Linked DNA regions of Homo sapiens: all the other regions are linked to region 2. Evidence: promoter capture Hi-C in human tissues and cell types (Jung and others, 2019). All regions are on one chromosome and are shown on one strand. Each heading gives the region's core, a stretch centred on a gene start or on the middle of the fragment in contact. The rest is flanking DNA. Distances are from core to core; before and after follow the strand shown.

Region 1 (4,037 bases), core at 43-2,542, 140 kb before region 2:
CTCAAACTCCTGACCTCAGGTGATCCGCCTGCCTCAGCCTTCCCAAAGTGCTGGGATTACAGGCGTTGAGTCACCATGCCTGGCCACTTTCTCCTTCATTTTAACTGGCTCTTAGGTCGAGATTAGAGATACTCATGCTTGACCTGGGATAATTTTAAAAAAACCCAGTCGTATGCTATCCATGTATTTTGGGAAACATTTAGGACCTGTGGAAGATCGGGCCTCAACATTAAATCAGCAATTCTCTTTACTGGAATCAGATTAGCACATCAAACTGAGCAGTGTCATGCACCTATAATCCCAGCTACTCAGGAGTCTGAGGTGAGAAGGTCACTTGAGTCCAGGAGTTCAAGACCAGCCAGGGCAACAGAGCAAGACCCAGTCTCAATCATAAAAATTTTTTAATTTTTAAAAAGATTTAACAAGTTAACATAAAATTAAAGTGTGTCTCAAAACCAGACAGCCATCTTGTCTGCCATCACTGAGCAAATTACAGATGGACTCAATACAAATTTGCCCACGGGGCTTGCTTGCAATACTATTTCACAAAGCTGACTGTATTCTTCATCTTCATAAATGGCCAGTCTGATGCATAGCATGTTTAGCTACAAATGCCTCTGCTGACTCTCCCTGCAACATTTTCATCGCTCGCCAGTAGATCTGTCCACAGTTCTCAGGTCTACCAAGGGGGTGGTTCAATTCTTCTTTCATATAATCCATCCAAAGATCTTTTAAAAAAAAAACATACAATTAGATAACTGACAGAGTGTTATTAGGTAACCTTATTAAATATCAATTCAACTCAAGATTTCTAAGAAACTTAACTTCTCATTGTTACTTCCCTAGGACGCTTTGTTTAACAATACCTCTCTTAGCTTCTTTAAAGTATAGTGGCAGGTTTTGGTTTGTTTTTGTGTGTTTTTTTCTTTTTTGAGACAGGGTCTCACTGTGTTGCCCCGGCTAGAGTGTAGTAGCGGGAACATGGCTTACTACAGTCTCAACCTCCTGAGTTCAAGTGACCCTCCTGCCTCAGCCTCCAGGGCAGCTGGGAACACAGGCACACCACCATATTAGGCTAATTTTTTTATTTTTTGTAGAAACAGGGTTTCACTATATTGCCCAGGCTAGTCTTGAACTCCTGGGCTCAAGCAATCCTTCTACCTTGGCCTTCCAAAGTGCTGGGATTACAGGCGTGAGCCACTGTGCCTCATCAGTTTTGTTTTTTTGTTTTTTGTTTTTTTTCCCAGTAGAAAACCTTCACATCAATCATAAAAGTCTATTTTATTCAATGAACTCAAAAATACTAAACTTTTTGGCTAGGCACAGTGGTTCACACCTGTAATCCCGGCACTTTGGGAGGCCAAGGCGGGCGGATCACCTGAGGTCAAGAGTTCAAGACCAGCCTAGCCAGCATGGCGAAACTCCATCTCGACTGAAAATACAAAAATTAGCCGAGCATGGTGGCACGCGTGCCTGTACTCCCAGCTACTTGGGAGGCTGAGGCACGAGAATCGCTTGAATCTGGGAGGCAGAGATTGCAGTGAGGCAAGATTGCGCCACTGCACTCCAGCCTGGGTGACAGAGTGAGACTCTGTCTCAAAACAAAATAAAAATAAACAAATCAATGTTTATGAGTTCACAAAGTCCACAGATTTTACATGACATACCTATACCCAGAAGTATGTTGTACAAGTCCTACAAATGAGGGCAATGTGGAGATAGTCAACAACAGACGCCAATTAGCATCTCACGTTTACCCCTTTCATGTAACTCTAAATACATTTTTTTTAAGAAAACAAAACCATGCAAATCTTTCTCTAATCCAGAGGGGGTGTTTTTGGTTTTTGTTTTTGAGACAGGATCTCATTGTATTGCCCAGGCTGGAGTACAATGGTGGCATCACAGTCATTGCAGCCTCAACATCCTGGGGCCCAAACAATCCTCGCACCTCAGCCTGCTGTGTAGCTGGGACCACAAGCATGCACCACCATACCCAGTTACTTTTTTTTTTTTATTGTTTGTAGAGATGGGGATCTAAATATGTTGCCCAGGCTGGTCTCAGGCTCCTGAGAAATCTAGGGTTCTTAACAGACGACCCATGGACCCCTGAACTTATGATCCTGAAATGATAGTATACACAAAGCAAGTGAGGAGGCAGAGGAAGGAAACAAGTTTTATTTTAAAAGAGGGTTATGATGCAAATCAAAAAACTAAGAAACAGTTTTGTTTGTTTGTTTGTTTGTTTTTGAGACGGAGTTTCACTGTTGTTGCCCAGGCTGGAGTGCAATGGTATAATCTCAGCTCACTGCAACCTCCGTCTCCCAGGCTCAAGCGATTCTCCTGCCTCAGCCTCCCAGGCAGGGATTACAGGTGCGCACCACCATGTCCAGCTAATTTTTATTTTAGTAGAGACGGGGTTTCACCATATTGGCCAGGCTGGTCTCGAACTCCTGACCTCAGGTGATCCGCCTGCCTTGGCCTCCCAAAGTGCTGGGATTACAGGCATGAGCCACTGTACTCAGCCAAGAAACACTGTTCTAACCATACTAATTGGTCACAAATTAAGGGTTTACTTACCAGAATCTGCGGATCCAAACTCTCTCAAAGCTCTCTCATAATATTCTCTTATGTTCGCCATATTGCAGGATTCCTGACAAAGATAGACAATCTTGTCTCAAAAGCCTGATTTATAACATAACAAATTCATTCCAACCATATTGTTAAGCAGCTACTGTCTGTCAGGTATTTGAAGGGAAGAGTTTAACATGAACACAACTTGGCTCTCAACTTTTCTAGGAAAAAAATCAAAGCCACTCAACAGAGTGAAGTACATATGTGAAACATAAAAGCACTTTGCTGTAGTAGCATGGAGAAAAGTGCTATTAGAAAAAAGTGGGGGACATGGGCAGCTTCACAGAAAACAGTATTTGAAAGTCTTGAGGAATGAGTGGGAATTAAATAAAGAAACAGCGAAGGTTCTATTCGCTTTGAGTAAGGATTTCTTCCTTTTGAATATCTGGGCTCTGGTACTTATTTGTTATATCCACCTTAAAATAAATACTAGTTATATGACCTTCAGCAAGTTTTTGAACCCTTTGACCTTAAACATTTCCTCACCTATAAAACAAGCTTTAATATCTCTTAGCACAACTATAAGTATTAGATTAAAATGCTGATGAATTATGTACCTAGCAGAATAGCTGTAACTAACTTTACAACCAAAAACTGCTCATTCTCCACCTATTTTTAAAAATGTATTCTTGCCGGGCACGGTGGCTCACACGGTCAGGAGATCGAGACCATCCTGGCTACAACAGTGAAACCCCGTCTCTACTGAAAATACAAAAAATTAGCCAGGCGTGGTGGCGGGTGCCTGTAGTCCCAGCTACTCAGGAGGCTGAGGCAGGAGAACGGCGTGAACCTAGGAGGTGGAGCTTGCAGTGAGCCGAGATCGCGCCACTACACTCCAGCCTGGGCGACAGAGCGAGACTCTGTCTCAAAAAAAAAAAAAAAAAAAAGTATTCTTGCCGGGTGCAGTGGCTCATGCCTGTAATCCCAGTACTTTGGGAGGCCAAGGCAGGCAGATCACAAGGTCAGGAGTTGAGACCAGCCTGGCCAACGTGGTGAAACCAGTCTCTACAAAAAATACAAAAATTAGGGCCAGGCGCGGTGGCTCACACCTGTAATCCCAGCACTTTGGGAGGCTGAGGCAAGGCAGGTGGATCACAAGGTCAGGAGTTCAAGACCAGCCTGGTCAACATGGTGAAACCCTGTCCCTACTAAAAATACAAAAATTAGCCAGGCATGGTGGTGCATGCCTGTAATCCTAGCTACTCAGGAGGCTGAGGCAAGAGAATTGCTTGAACCTGGGAAGCAGAGGTTGCAGTGAGCCAAGAGTCCAGCCTGGGCGACAGAGAGAGACTCCGTCTAAAAAAAAAAAAAAAAAATTAGCCAGGTGCGGTGGCAGGGGCCTGTAATCCCAGCTACTCGGGAGGCTGAGGCAGGAGAATCGCTTGAACCTGGAAGGCAGAGGTTGC
Region 2 (3,836 bases), core at 1,252-3,751:
CCAAAAGTTTTTGAGTGTCAACATGCTGTTCAAAGGAAATGCTCATTAGAGCATTTCAGATTTTCAGATTAGAAATGATCAACTGGTAAGTAGAATGCAAATATTCCAAAAATGCCCAAAACACTTCTGATCCAAAGCATTTTAGGTAAGGATGCTCAACCTATACAGTATTCACTGACTTAACATTTTTCTTCTTGAAGCCACAGAAAGATAAATTCATTAAAGCATAAAGGAGCAAAACAGCAAATACCTGCTAATCCATTCAAAGAAGAGTTGGGTTTTTTTGGTCTATTTTGTTTAACTTTTCTCTTTTTTTTGGTGGGGGGGAGGGGGTGGTGAAGGAGTCTCGCTCTGTTGCCCAGGCTGGAGTGCAGTGGCATGGTCTCCGCTCACCACAACCTCCGCCTTCCAGGTTCAAGCGATTCTCCTGCCTCAGCCTCCTGAGTAGCTAGGACTATGGGCACATGCCACCATGCCCGGCTAATTTTTGTGTTTTAAGTAGAGATGGGGTTTCACTATGTTGGCCAGGCTAACCTCGAACTTCTGGGCTCAAGTGATCCACCCACCTGGCTTCCTAAAGTGCTGGGATTACAGGTCTGAGCCACCACACCTGGCCACCCTCTTCAAACAAAATATGAGCATTTCCATTGGCCTAGGTCTTCACCTTGTCTACTTTATTGACTTACATTACTTACCTAGTCCCTGAAGACATAACACACATTTGCCACCCTTAGAGCTCAACCAAACTGTATTGAATGCATGTATTTGGCAATTAGTGCTTGTATTTTAATTTTCATTTCACATATGTGTTCCATTTTCCTAACTAGATTGAAATAAGCCATCTCCTATTAGGTATTTTTCTTTCTTTTTTAAAAATTTTGAGACAGGGTCTTGCTCTGTCACTCAGGCTGGAGTGCAGAGGTGCAATCATGGCTCAGTGCAACATCCACCTCCCAGGCTCAAGCGATCCTGCCCCCTCACCCTCTGGCGTAGCTGGGACCACAGGTGCGCACCACCATGCCCGGCTAATTTTTCAATTTTTTTCTAGAGACGAGGTCCTGCTATGTTGCCCAGGCTAGTCTCAAACTCTTGACCTCAAGCAATCGTCCGGCTTTGGCTTCTCAAAGGGCTGGGATTGCAGGCATGAGCTATCGCGCCCGGCCAAGTATTTTTGTTTAAATTACTTTTTGGTTGTCACTTATCTCAATAAATATTAACATATGTTTACGAAACCTTTCTTTTTCTTTTTTTTTTTTTTTTTTTTTTTTTTTTTTTGAGACGGAGTCTCGCTCTGTCTCCCAGGCTGGAGTGCAGTGGCGCGATCTCGGTTCACTGCAACCTCCGCCTCCCGGATTTTACGCCATTCTCCTGCCTCAGCCTCCCGAGTAGCTGGGACTACAGGCGTGCACCACCTACGCCCGGCTAATTTTTTTTGTATTTTTAGTAGAGATGGGGTTTCACTGTGCTAGCCAGGATGGTCTCGAACTCCTGACCTTGTGATCCGCCCGCCTCGGCCTCCCAAAGTGCTGGGATTACAGGCGTCAGCCACTGTGCCCGGCAAACCTTTCTCTTATCTGAAGAACTGACCTCAACCACTCAGGGTTGAGTCCCTGTGATAAGGTTTGAGGGTGCCTGAACTGTCACCATGATTCGTCCCCTGGGCTGAGCTCAAACCTAGTGATTTGTCAGGTAAATAAATTAAGGTTATTTCCCGATAATACAGACCTGTAACACCGTGAAGTAGGTTTTAGGCAGGATTCCCTCTTTTCCACTGCAAAGGAGAGGTAAGTTCTTGCTAAGGTGGTCAGGCTCCTAGCTGGGACACTGGGAAGGTGGCGGGAGATTGGAACATGCAGTAGTTGCATTCTGGAGTTTACTGAGGCTTTCCGAGTGGGGATCCCATGCAACAGGTCTTAGGGACCCCCCTCCCTCCAGGCGTGGCAGCCCGGGGTGTGGCTCCTGGCACAGATCCGGAGCAGTTGTCATCGGAGTCAATTCAGGACTCCACTTCCAAGCTTCGGAGTTTCCTAAATTCTGGGGGCTTGTCTCCCTGTACCCCACCCCGACTAATTTTCCTCGGTCGCTGGCGCTGCCCCGTCCCTTAGGTCGCTCGGGCCGCCCCCCTCCGCGACTTTTTTTTTCTTTCTCTCGCTGCCTCTTTCAGCCTCAGTTTCCCTAGAGGGCGGGAGGGGAACGATATTTGGGGGCTCTCCTGCCTTCCTCTCCGAGCCGCGGAAGGGGAGTCGCGGGAAGGAGACCCGGCAGGCTTTGGGCTCCAGCCAGGGGTCCGCGGAGACTGTGGTCTCCGAAGGCCTTAGACGCGGGGCTTGTCAGGAGCTGCGGGCCTCTTTCAGCCGCGCCACCCGCACCCGGAGCGCCGTGCTGCGCCAAGTCCAGGCGCCCCGAGCTCTCCGCCCCCGACTCAATGCTCCCGCGCTCCCCCTAGCGGCCGCCGCGCCACCTCGCCCCCTTCCCAGGCTGGGCGGCGGCGCACCTCACGTGACCGCGCTCCTGTAGAGGGAAGAAACAAGGTGGCGGTTGAAGGCGATCTTGAGTGGGGCCCCAGCAATTCGGTTGAGCCTTCTCCCTCCACTCGCTTCCGCCGGCCGGGCCCCTCCCGCCCAGCCCCTCGGGCCTCCCAACCCGGCCCCGGCGCTCCCCACCGCCGCCACTGCGCCCGGCCCTCCCCGTCAGCTTTCCCTTCTCCCGCCGCCTGGGCTCCAACAAGAGGGGCCGGCGGGGCAGGCCGACCAAGCAGCCCGCGGCTCCCGCTGCGGAGCGCTGCGCCCCGGCCCCGCCGCCGCCGCCGCCCACGTCCGGACCCATCGGGGGCTCCCCTCGCCGATACGCGGTAGTAGCCGGGGCAGGTGGGCAGCCGCCAGGCTGAGGTGGCGCCCAAGACGCGGCTGAGCTCGCCCAGGGTGGGCAGCAGTAGCCGGAGGAAGCCACCGCCGCCGGCCCGCCCCGCGCCGGCACCAGCGCACGGGCCCGGCGGGGGCGCGGGGGCAGCCACCTAGCCCGGACCACCGCAGCCCGGAGGGCTGTCAACAGAGTGGTGTATGATGACTACGAGAGCGAGGAGGAGGAGTAAGAGGAGGGGGGCGGCGATGCCGAGGAGACCCAGGAGTCTGAGGACAACTAGGAGGATGACATGGAGGAGGACGACGATGACTCCGATTATCCGGAGGAGCTGGAAGATGACGACGAGGACGCCAGTTACTCCACGGAAAGCAGCTTCAGCAGCACTCCAGGTACCCACCCAGCGCAGTTGCTGCAGACTCATTCCCCACCTCCTCTCCCCTCCCCCCTTGCTCACTTATGTGCTGTGCATCCCGCTCCGATCTCCCGCCAACCCCGCCGACCCCTAAACTTTAGAGGGGAAATGGGAGGGCACATCAAGTGGCAAAAAACTAGATTTATAAGAGGAAAGAAGCACATTGTTCAAAATGGAGATTGCATTGTTGCAGGCCGCACTCGCTTGCTCCCCGTCCCCCCAACTCCCTTTTTTTCTCCTCAAAATTTGTGCCAGTGCAGTGTCTCCACCGGGCAGGATTGAAACTTTGGCAAACACATATCCATTGCATTCATTTTTCTCCCCTTGTTTTGGTGTGGTTTTCTGGAATGAAAGAAGCCTCTTGTTTTGCAAACCTCTTTGCATTTCTAATGTGTTTCCTTTCGGATTTTCATTATATATCTGTTCCTTAAAAGGGAATTAAGGATTTGTACAGATTGTGGCACACAGACACACAGAAAAACATGCCTGTGTTCACACCCCTAGCTGTGGTTTTTAAATTGTGTTAAGGAAACGGATCATTTTGGTTAGTAGGGGAACTTTA
Region 3 (4,294 bases), core at 1,017-3,516, 190 kb after region 2:
GATGGAGTTCACTTTGTTGCCCAGGCTGGTCTTGAACTCCTGGGCTCAAGTGATCCTCCTTGCCTCGGTCTCCCAAAGTGCTGGGATTACAGGCATGAGTCACCATGTCCAGCACTCAGTGCATTTGGTTAATGTTTATTAAACAGAATTTAGGGTGGGTCCAAAAGGTCAAGTCAGGTAGAAATAACTTCTCTGCATCATTTTCAACTCATTACAATATTGGAATTAATATGAAGCTCATAAGTATGACTTAAAATTTGTAGGAAGAACAAACCCATGACAGGTAAATCAGTATTATTTGTAAATTTTTTATATTAACCTGCTTTTCTGATATTTAAGAAAATGGGCCTGCTACAGTGGCTTATGCCTATAATCCCAACACTTACTGGGAAGCCAAGGTGGGTGGATTGCTTGAGCCCAGGAGTTTGAGCCAGCCTGGGCAACATGGTGAGACCCCATCTCTACAAAAATACAAAAATTAGCCAGGCATGGTAGTGTGCGCCTGTGGTCCCAGCTACTCAAGAGGCTGAGATGGGTAGATTGATTGAGCCCAGGAGGTCGAGACTGCAGTGAGCTGTGATCGTGCCACTGCACTGTAGCCCGGGCAGCAGAGTGAGACCCTGTCTGAATTTAAAAAAGAGAAAAAAAGAAAATGTTGTTACTTTGGAATGAGCATTATTATGACTCTTCTGAAGAGTGCCAAAATCACTCCAGAGAGTTTCCTTGGGAAAGTCTAAATGATACCAAGTGAAGATATTCTTGTAAATGGTGTTACCTCACAAAAGACTTGTTGCAATTTTATATTAATTTCTTAAATTTTAACATTTGATTAATGATTTATTTTACTCTTGAATTTTTTCAACAGGCTGAAAATACCTCCTGATTGCACTACTGAATTAAATCATCATGCATATTTATTTCTCCAAAGCACCTTTGACAAGCATGATTTGGTAAGCCTTTAGCTGTAATTTTCCATTATATATAGTAAAACATTTTTCTATGGATGATATAACTCTGTTCCCTGAGCTATGGGATGTGTATGTTACATAGCCAAAAACTGCTTAACCTCTCTAAGTTAAATTCGCAAAAATATTTTCTGCTGTTTACCTTTGTTGTTTTCTCAAGATGAAAATGTCTAATTTCTAATAGACTCTCTTATAGGTTTTCTTACATACATTTGAGGAATTTTCTTGATAAAATGTAAAATTTGTTGTCATTTATTAAGTAGTTTTAAAAAGCATAGCTTTACTAGATTGGGGGGCTTTTGAGTTGGGAATTATTATCTTAGATATCTAAACATTCTGTATCCTTGTGTTTCTTCAGGATAGAGACTGTGCTTTGTCACCTGATGAGCTTAAAGATTTATTTAAAGTTTTCCCTTACATACCTTGGGGGCCAGATGTGAATAACACAGTTTGTACCAATGAAAGAGGCTGGATAACCTACCAGGGATTCCTTTCCCAGTGGACGTGAGTATAGAGCTCACCTCTTTCCTCTAGAGTTACAAATAGTTTAAAATTATGGTGTATTACATTTGTCACTTTGTAAGCTTGTGAGGCATTATGAAATTCTTCAATCATAATTGCCTCTAAGCAAGATTAGCTGCTGATATCTCTAAGATGAACTATAAATGTTCTATAAATTTATCAGGAAGGGATTGTTTTCTTTTGAATGATATATAGGGAAAAAGTAGTAAGTCTTTGAAAATTGAACTACATTTTAGCACTTTTTTGTTTGATTAAGGGAATTGGAAATGTCATTGCTGTTGCACAATTCTTACTCTTTCAGAATATGGGGTGAAGCATATTTTACTTGACACTGAAGATTCTGTTTTTTTGTTATTGTTTGTTTTTAATGAACTCTTTTTTTTTTTTTTTTTGAGATGGAGTCTCACTCTGTTGCCCAGGCTGGAGTGTAGTGGCGTGATCTTGGCTCACTGCAACTCTGCCTCCTGGGTTCAAGCCATTCTCCTGCCTCAGCCATGAGGTTCTTTCACTCAGCACATTGTGGACATTTTTCTGTATCAATAAGTATACTTTTATATATCTTAATGTTAAATAATGTGTCACAATATGGATGTCCTATAACTTATTTAACTATCCCATAATTATATATTTTTATCATTTTTGGGTTTTTTTCTACTATCACTAGTATTCTGGTGAGGTCTGTTGTAGTTCAGTCTTCAGGTATAGCCTAAGGAGGTTGTTTTTTTTGGTTTGTTTTTAACTTGGAAGGTAGATCGCATAAAATATCCCCACTCTATCTAGATTTTACCAGCCACTCACCGCTTATGTTTGTAAGCTTAGTGTTTCTGGACAGATGGAGTAGAGAGAGGAATTACCCACCATCTTGCATTCTTCTCCCTTTCTTCTCTGCATTAAGAATGGCAGTGTAGGGCCAGGCAGCGTGGCTCATACCTATAATCCTAGCACTTTGGGAGGCCAAGGTGGATGGATCACTTGAGCTCAGGAGTTCAAGACCAGCCTAAGCAACATGGCGAAACCCTGTCTCTACTAAAAAATTTTTTTAAATTAAAAAAAAAATTAGCCAGGCTTGGGGGCACATGCCTGTAGTCCCAGATACTTGGGGAGCTGATGCAGGAAGATCACTTGCACCCAGGGGTTCAAGGCTACAGTGAGCCATGTTTGTGCCATTGCACTCTAGCGTGGATGACAAAGTAAGGCCCTATCTTTCAAAAAAAAAAAAAAGAATGGCAGTGTAAGAAAAACTATGGTTGGGCTCATAGGAAATTAAAGTAGTCTAGACAAAAATTATCTAGGTCTGGTGCATAAAGTTTTTTTAGCTATTGGCTTTTTTTTCCCCATAAATATTCGTTTAGGAACTTTTCACATTTTAAACTCTTTTCTTTCATAGGCTCACGACTTATTTAGATGTACAGCGGTGCCTGGAATATTTGGGCTATCTAGGCTATTCAATATTGACTGAGCAAGAGTCTCAAGCTTCAGCTGTTACAGGTAAGTATCTAGATACTGTTCAGCTCATGATTAGAGATATTTTTTAAGACTCCATTTTCAAATGTAACAAAGAGTAAGAATACACTCATCTTCATTAGTCTTCCATCTACACTCTATTAGTTTTCCTTGTGATCAGATCATTTCTTTTGTGTTGAGGTGCTTGATTTTATTGTTTATGAAAAGAAAGAAAGTAGAGACTTTGCTTCAAGTCTACTCCCTGGGGTTACTCCACTGATGAAAATGAGGAAGAGCTGTGGGCATTAAAGGATTTACCAGTTGATCTTGCGTTTTAATTTTCTTTAAACATTAAAAATAATGCGTATTAACTGTTTTCTGTATTAATACAGCTTTCACAAATCTTGTAAGCCAGGCATTCTTGCCAAGCAATGTGCACCACTTAAAGTAAACCATATGTATGGAAATAGCAAGTTAAGGAACTGATCATTTCAAGAGTTTCTTATATCCCTGTTGGTGGAAAATCTGCCATATCTTATGGGAAGCCCTAGCACAAGAAGACAGCCTTTCTTAAATTGACAGAGCAGGTACCCTTTAAAATACTTAACCAATTAGACAGTATTTAATTCAACACCAGAGAATAAGAAAACAGTCACTAGCCAGCCATGAGGTTCTTTCACTCAGCACATTGTGGACATTTTTCTGTATCAATAGGTATACTTTTATATATCTTAATGTTAAATAATGTTTCACAATATGGATGTTCTATAACTTATTTAACTATCCCATAATTATATATTTTTATCATTTTCGGTTTTTTTTCTACTATCACTAGTATCTCTGGTGAGGTCTGTTGTAGTTCAGTCTTCAGGTATAGCCTAAGGAGGTTGTGTTTGTTTGTTTGTTTGTTTGTTTGTTTGAGATGGAGTCTCTCTCTATCACCAGGCTGGAGTGCAGTGATGAGATCTCAACTCACTGCAACCTCCGCCTCCTGGGTTCAAGCGATTCAGCTGCCTCAGCCTCCCAAGTAGCTGGGACTACAGGCATGCACCACCATGCCCAGCTAATTTTTGTATTTTTAGTAGAGATGGGGTTTCACTGTGTTGGCCAGGATGGTCTCAATCTCTTGACCTTGTGATCTGCCCCTGTTGGCCTCCCACAGTTCTGGGATTACACGCGTGAGCCACTGCACCCGGCTCTAAGAAGGTCTCTTTACCTCAGGAAGGGATGCTTGCTGTCCCTATGATACAGCATTGTTTTCTGGCATGCCTCTTTTACAGTTTACATTTGAAAGGACGGCTAACCCCAAAGTGTGTGTCCCTTTCCGTTTTATGGATCCAGCTCCAAGAGAGTGCAGATTTGAA

Evidence for each region. The method cuts DNA at HindIII sites, captures the fragments that hold promoters and counts their contacts. A contact is called where the count stands out against the background at its distance.
Region 1: a contact is called between a fragment that was not itself captured here and the fragment with the promoter of LRRC37B in region 2, in 1 of the 25 tissues and cell types used here (lymphoblastoid cells).
Region 3: a contact is called between a fragment that was not itself captured here and the fragment with the promoter of LRRC37B in region 2, in 3 of the 25 tissues and cell types used here (dorsolateral prefrontal cortex, lymphoblastoid cells and spleen).

Annotation. Positions count from the first base shown.
Region 1 is chr17:31,862,789-31,866,825 of GRCh38, forward strand. UTP6 (UTP6 small subunit processome component) reads right to left here. Exons shown (of 19, transcript NM_018428.3): 18 at 2,578-2,650; 19 at 1-728. The coding sequence ends at 571. Among named protein-coding and RNA genes, the nearest start is that of COPRS, 5.6 kb to the left of the region's middle. The HindIII fragment of the contact is 4,843 bases long and covers 1-3,714 here.
Region 2 is chr17:32,004,882-32,008,717 of GRCh38, forward strand. It overlaps LRRC37B (leucine rich repeat containing 37B), which reads left to right and starts at 2,502. Exons shown (of 15, transcript NM_001321350.2): 1 at 2,502-3,251. LOC124903972 reads right to left here and starts at 2,826. Exons shown (of 4, transcript XM_047437248.1): 1 at 2,495-2,826; 2 at 1,726-1,824. The coding sequence starts at 2,826. RefSeq lists an enhancer at 1,503-2,425 and silencers at 2,468-2,517, 2,558-2,907. The HindIII fragment of the contact is 11,687 bases long and covers 272-3,836 here.
Region 3 is chr17:32,198,082-32,202,375 of GRCh38, forward strand. RHOT1 (ras homolog family member T1) reads left to right here. Exons shown (of 20, transcript NM_001033566.3): 12 at 866-950; 13 at 1,324-1,469; 14 at 2,875-2,975. Among named protein-coding and RNA genes, the nearest start is that of RHOT1, 58 kb to the left of the region's middle. The HindIII fragment of the contact is 4,562 bases long and covers 1-4,294 here.